Linked DNA regions of Homo sapiens: region 2 is linked to region 1. The links are contacts of gene promoters, found by promoter capture Hi-C in blood cells and fetal thymus (Javierre and others, 2016). All regions are on one chromosome and are shown on one strand. The core of a region is centred on a gene start or on the middle of the fragment in contact, and the rest is flanking DNA. Distances in the headings are between cores, read along the strand shown. Region 1 holds the start of AVPI1 (arginine vasopressin induced 1). Region 2 has its middle 1.4 kb from the start of OLMALINC.

Region 1 (2,700 bases), core at 108-2,607:
GGGATAACCCTTTCAAGATTTCTAGAACCCTGAATTCTGGCTGTGCTGCTAACTGGGTGACCTTGGATAAGTCTCAGTTTCCCCTGCCACAAGTTGCTCGTCATCAAAATAGTATAAGGCCAGGCCTGGTGGCTCACGCCTGTAATCCCAGCACTTTGGGAGGCTGAGGTGGGAGGATTGCTTGAGCCCAGGAGTTCCAGACCAGCCTGGTCAACATAGCAAGACTGCCTCTATAAAATTTTAAATAAGCTTTTTAAAATAAATGGTGAGTATAAATAACTCTTAACAGGAAAAGGGAGATTAAGTTTGTGACGGCATTCCTTCTAGTACCTGGTATACCACAGACATTCTATGCATGCTGGTTGAATGAATAAATGATGAAGGGAAAGGCTGTTTGACTACCAGGGGCTATAGAATCATTGTCATTTTCATCATCACAGCCATCAACAAATCTGTGTACTTTTAAATCATAGCTTTATGATTAAAATCATAGAGGCAGCTTGTTCAGTGTCAAGCGCAGAACAGAGCACGTTCAGATGGGTGCTTTCTTTCCTCCTCACTTAAGGTGGCACTATTGTTATACCCATTTTACAGATGAGAAAGCTACACCCAAAGTCACACAGCTGGCAGGTGATGGAAGCTGGGACATGAACCCAGGCAGTCTGACCCCAGCACCCGGGCTCTCAAGCCACTGTTATTTTTGTTCCTGCCAGATGGCTGAGGAGGTCTTCTGGGGAAGGTCGGTCCCAGAAGCCTTTCGGAGGCTATCTGCTTCTGTAGATTGTGGAAGGAGCAGGGAGGGATCCAAAGTCAGGACTCCCAAGCTAGCCTCTGTACCCTCTGCACTCCACTGCCCGGTGGAGAATTGGAGCAGGTACTCACCACACTGAAGGGCAGCTCCGACAGACCTCAAATGGGGATGGGGCAAGCTAAGATGCGCCCACTCCAACCTCTTCCACAGCCTTCAGAAAGGGCAGGCGCAGCTCTGCGAAGGTGCTTACAAGGGCCAGTCGGTGATCACGGGCAGCACAAGAGCATGGCAGAGGGTATCCTGGCCGAGGTCCTAAGGCGACATCTGCAGCACGAGGAGGCCCCGGGACTCAGACGTGGCCGCTTCGCAGAACGACGGGGTCCTAAGTGGATCTGGCGGTCGCGTCCCGCTGGCACCCCGGCTCTGACTGTCGCCCTCCGGCTCCCACCGCAGCGCCGAGCTGGGCCGCCGACCTACGTACCTGGTTGCTTGAGGCAGGCCGCACGCAGCCCCAAACTGGTCCGGGCCACTTGGGTCACAGCCGCGGTTCCCGGGAGAAAGCGCTCCCTAGCCCCGGAACAGCCAATCCTCGGCCCTAGCCAGGTATGAGCTCCCAGGCGAGCCTTCCAAACCCAAGGCGGAGTTCCGTGCGCCAATCATCGGTGGGAGACAGGGAGGGGGCGTGTCCATCCCCGCCCCCCGCCTCCGCTGGCCTCGAAAGCGGAGTGCGAAGCTTCCTCAAACCTAATCGGCGGCGGAGCGGCGGTGAGGGGGCGTGTCTGCCCGGGCCCTGCCCACCGCCCTCTCCGCCCCCGCGCGGCGCCCGAGGCGCCCCCTTCATTGACGTCAGTCCCCAGGGCCAGCGCGGTTTTGCTGGCGCGGGAGCTGGGCGGGGCTGCATTCCTGCCCCAGGGTGCGGCGAAAGCTGGCCCTGCCGGGTACACGTGACGGATGCCCCTTCTCCTGGGCCCGAGGCCAGCGCGCGCGGCACTGACTGCCTTGCAGCGCGTGGCCCTCTGCAGATCCTCAGACTCTGCCGCTCAAGTCCCCTCCCAGCCCACCGTTTGGCTCCGGCTTTGAGGGAGAGGAGGGGGCAGTCTGCTGGAGTCAGACCTTGGGCTTCAAAGCCAGAATGTCGTGGGTTCAAATATTGGGTCATTTGTGCGACTTTGGGCCGGTTACCTAAACAAGACCGTATTTTAAAGTTTGTATGCATTCGGAAATGTTCATTAGTGACCTATGCTGTCCGAGTTCCTTGATAGGCCGTAAACAAGAGAGACGGAAAGACCTATAGCCCTTGTCCTGGGGAGTCTACAGCCTAGTAAGGGAGGCAGGCATTAAACAACCTAAAACATGGAGTATGTGATTACAGTTGTGATCAATGTTATGGCTATAAGAGGATAAATATGGAGGAACCTAAGCTTCCTCTGGGAGGTTCAGGAGGGCTGAAGAAGCAGCATTTAAGCTGAGATATAAAGAAGGAGTTGAAACTGGTCAAATGAAGAGGAGTGGATCTGGGGAGACTGCTTTAAGGAAAGAGGGAAAGGCATTTGGTTGGGCCAGGAGGTAGCTTGGCTCCGGAGGAATTAAATGCGACCCGGAGTAAGGCTAGCAAGAGAGAGCACGGTGGGAAGTAGAAGGCAGAGGCAGGCAGAGAAGGTTGCATGTGATCCTTGGAGGGGTTTAAACAAGGAATGGCATTATATGTACTGTGTTTATGTAACGGGCATTTTATAGTACTTACCACGTACCAGTAGTGTCAGTCAGCACTTTGCAAATTTCATCATCATGACAAGTTTGTGTTTTTAGAAGGTCACTCTGGCTGCAGTTTGGAACTTGGATTGGAGGGGGCAGGAGTGGAGGCAGGGTGTCCAGTAGGCCTCTGATAAATGCTTGTTTTGTCCTTGGAAGATGAAGTGTTTGTGCACTTGTTCAGCAATGCTCAGGAA
Region 2 (2,700 bases), core at 127-2,626, 2.7 Mb after region 1:
CTCCCTGGGTGGCAGTGGCAGGGAGCTTAAGTTTTGCACAAACAGCAGATGCATCCACTGTTCCGGAAGAACCCAGCTCACTCCACCTCCTGACCCGTCTTAACATTCAGTCACACCTGGGTTTTAAGCTTTCCTCTCAAACCATAGATACGTACCCAACATTTCCTGTCTACTTTTCCTAAACTACACTTCACCCTCCTATAAGATTGTGAGCTCCTCAAAAGCATCTTCCTCTTTCAGAAATGTCTCCCTGCCCCTAAACAGTCAGCACTGGAAATGACAGAATGAGCTCATGTCTTGCTCTAAATTCTGTCACTGCTACAAACTGTGTGAAATGTCACAGGGAGTAGGAGTCATATTTTGTGACCTGTAGTTAACTTTCCGTGCTGCAGGCAAAGCGCTGATTCTTGTACACTGACTTTGGAACAAATGCCACAGGCCCTAATTGCAGGCTCCAAGGAGTTGAGATTCCATACTGGGGTTGCTGGAGGCAGAAGCCTTCCCACTTTCAGGACCCGGACCTGCCCTTCCCCCACGCGGTCCCGCCCAGCCAGCTACACCCTGGCCACAGAGCGCTCACAAAGGCTCAGTGTGTGTATGCCGGGCTGACTCACAGTGGTTCTGGGCCCAGGCGAGGACCTTCTCAGAGGGGCGGAAGGGGCCCTCTCCCTCCTGGCCATTTTCCATGGGGAGCAGTCAGTAACCAGGACCATGCCAGACTTCAAAAAACAGAGAGGAAAGTGGAAGTGAAAGGCAGCAGAGGACTCAGAATTGCTGTTTCTTATTTCTTTCTTAGAGAATTATGGACAGCAGGAAGGACTCACCTTTTAGTCTGTCAGTTTGTTTGCGAGAGAGAGAGAGAGAGAGAGAGAGAGAGAGATACATTTTAATTGAGAGACAATTCACACAATATAAAACTAACCACTTTATTTATTGAGATAGGGGTCTCACTATATTGCCCAGGCTGGTCTCAAACTCCTGGGCTCAAGTGATCCTCCTCCCTTGGCCTCCCAAAGTGCTGGGATGACAGGTGTGAGCCACCGTGCCCGGCTAAACTAACCATTTTATTTTATTTATTTATTTTGAGACAGAGTTTTGCTCTTGTCGCCCAGGCTGGAGTGCAATGGGATGATCTCGGATCACTGCAACCTTCGCCTCCCGGGTTCAAACGATTCTCCTGCTTCAGCCTCCTGAGTAGCTGGGATTACAGGCACCTGCCACCATGCCCATCTTTTTTTTTCTTTCTTTCTTTCTTTTTTTTTTTTTTTTTAGGAGAGATGGGGTTTCACCACGTTGGCCAGGCTAGTCTCAAACTCCTGACCTCAGGTGATCCGCCCGCCCCACCCTCTCAAAGTGCTGGGATTACAGGTGTGAGCCACCGTGCCAGGCCGAACTAACCATTTTAAATTGACCAGTTCTGTGGCACTTAGTGCATTCATAACATTGTGCAAACACTACCTTTTGTTCTAAAACATTTTCACCCCAAAAGAAAACTTGAACCCATTCAACAGTGATTCCCCATCTTCCCACCCACACTCGGCCCCTGGTGACCATCAGTCTGCTTTCTGTCTCTGTGGATTTACCACTTCAGGATATTTCCTATACATGGAATCGTACAATATATGACCTTCTGTGTCTGGCTTCCTTCTCTTGGCATAATCTTTCAATGTTCATCCCCATTGGAGCATATATCAGTACTTCATTCCTGTTTATTACCTATTCATATTCCATTGTATGAATACACCACAGTTGGTTTACTGATTTATCAATTGATGAACACTGGAGTTGCTTCCACCTTTTGGTTATTGTGAATAGCACTGCCATGAACATTTGAGTGCAAATATGAGTACCCGTTTATAATTTATTAGGGTTTATATCTAGGAGTGGAGTTGCTGGGCCAGATGCTAATTTGATATTTAACCTTTTGTGGCACCATCAAACTGTTTCCCCAGTGGCTGCACCACTTTAAATTTTCTCCAGCAATGTATGAGAGTCACCCTCTTCTTAACGTGTACCCATTTGTCCCTTTCCTCTTTCCTACTTTTTACAAAGCCAGTTCCCCACAGACTTCTCTTTCCCCTGGAGTAGAGGGTGGGAGAAGTTGCATCTCTAGTAGAAAGACTATCCAAGCCTCCATTCTTACCTTTTCCGCAAATAGAATACGGTGACCAGGAGGAGGAGAGGACAGGCTGCCACCTCCCTGTGGTCACTAAGGTACACCCACTACAGCCATTAACGCGACTCCGTAAAACTACCCTCCTAGCGACCTCCAACGCCTCGGTCCTCACCCAGAACATCACATTAAACTTTTCAACAGTCACAGATAGGAAGGGGCTCGGTGTGGAAGGTGCCAGCTCTGGCTCAGCCCTGCGGGTGAGTGTTTAACTTTCAGCCCAGCTTAAGATCTCCGAAGACACCCATCGCCTCGTCCTGCCCAGTCCCCTCCGCTAAAGGGCCGGCCTGCCCGGGCCTGGCTGGCAGCTGACATGAATGGAGAGGAAGCGCCTCCCTCTCCACCCACTCTCGCCGGGGTTACTGCCGGTCACAGACCCGGGCCTTCAAGAGCTATTTACACCTACAACAGCCCACCAGCGCCTGACCACGCCGGAGCCAATCAGCGGCCCCCAAGCTTGTCTGATTCTGTCTGCTCCAATCAGGAGGCGCGGTCCTTCCAGCCTCTTGCTCCTGTGAATCACAGGT

Evidence for each region. The method cuts DNA at HindIII sites, captures the fragments that hold promoters and counts their contacts. A CHiCAGO score of 5 or more calls a contact.
Region 2: a fragment that was not itself captured here is called in contact with the fragment with the promoter of AVPI1 in region 1 in 1 of 17 cell types (M0 macrophages); the score reaches 7.6 in M0 macrophages.

The regions. Positions count from the first base shown.
Region 1 is chr10:97,685,884-97,688,583 of GRCh38, forward strand. It overlaps AVPI1 (arginine vasopressin induced 1), which reads right to left and starts at 1,358. Exons shown (of 3, transcript NM_021732.3): 1 at 883-1,358. RefSeq lists enhancers at 495-1,448, 1,182-2,381, 1,449-2,402 and a silencer at 1,345-1,724. The HindIII fragment of the contact is 1,235 bases long and covers 248-1,482 here.
Region 2 is chr10:100,370,857-100,373,556 of GRCh38, forward strand. No RefSeq gene overlaps it. Among named protein-coding and RNA genes, the nearest start is that of OLMALINC, 1.4 kb to the right of the region's middle. RefSeq lists enhancers at 2,283-2,612, 2,342-2,700. The HindIII fragment of the contact is 2,501 bases long and covers 127-2,627 here.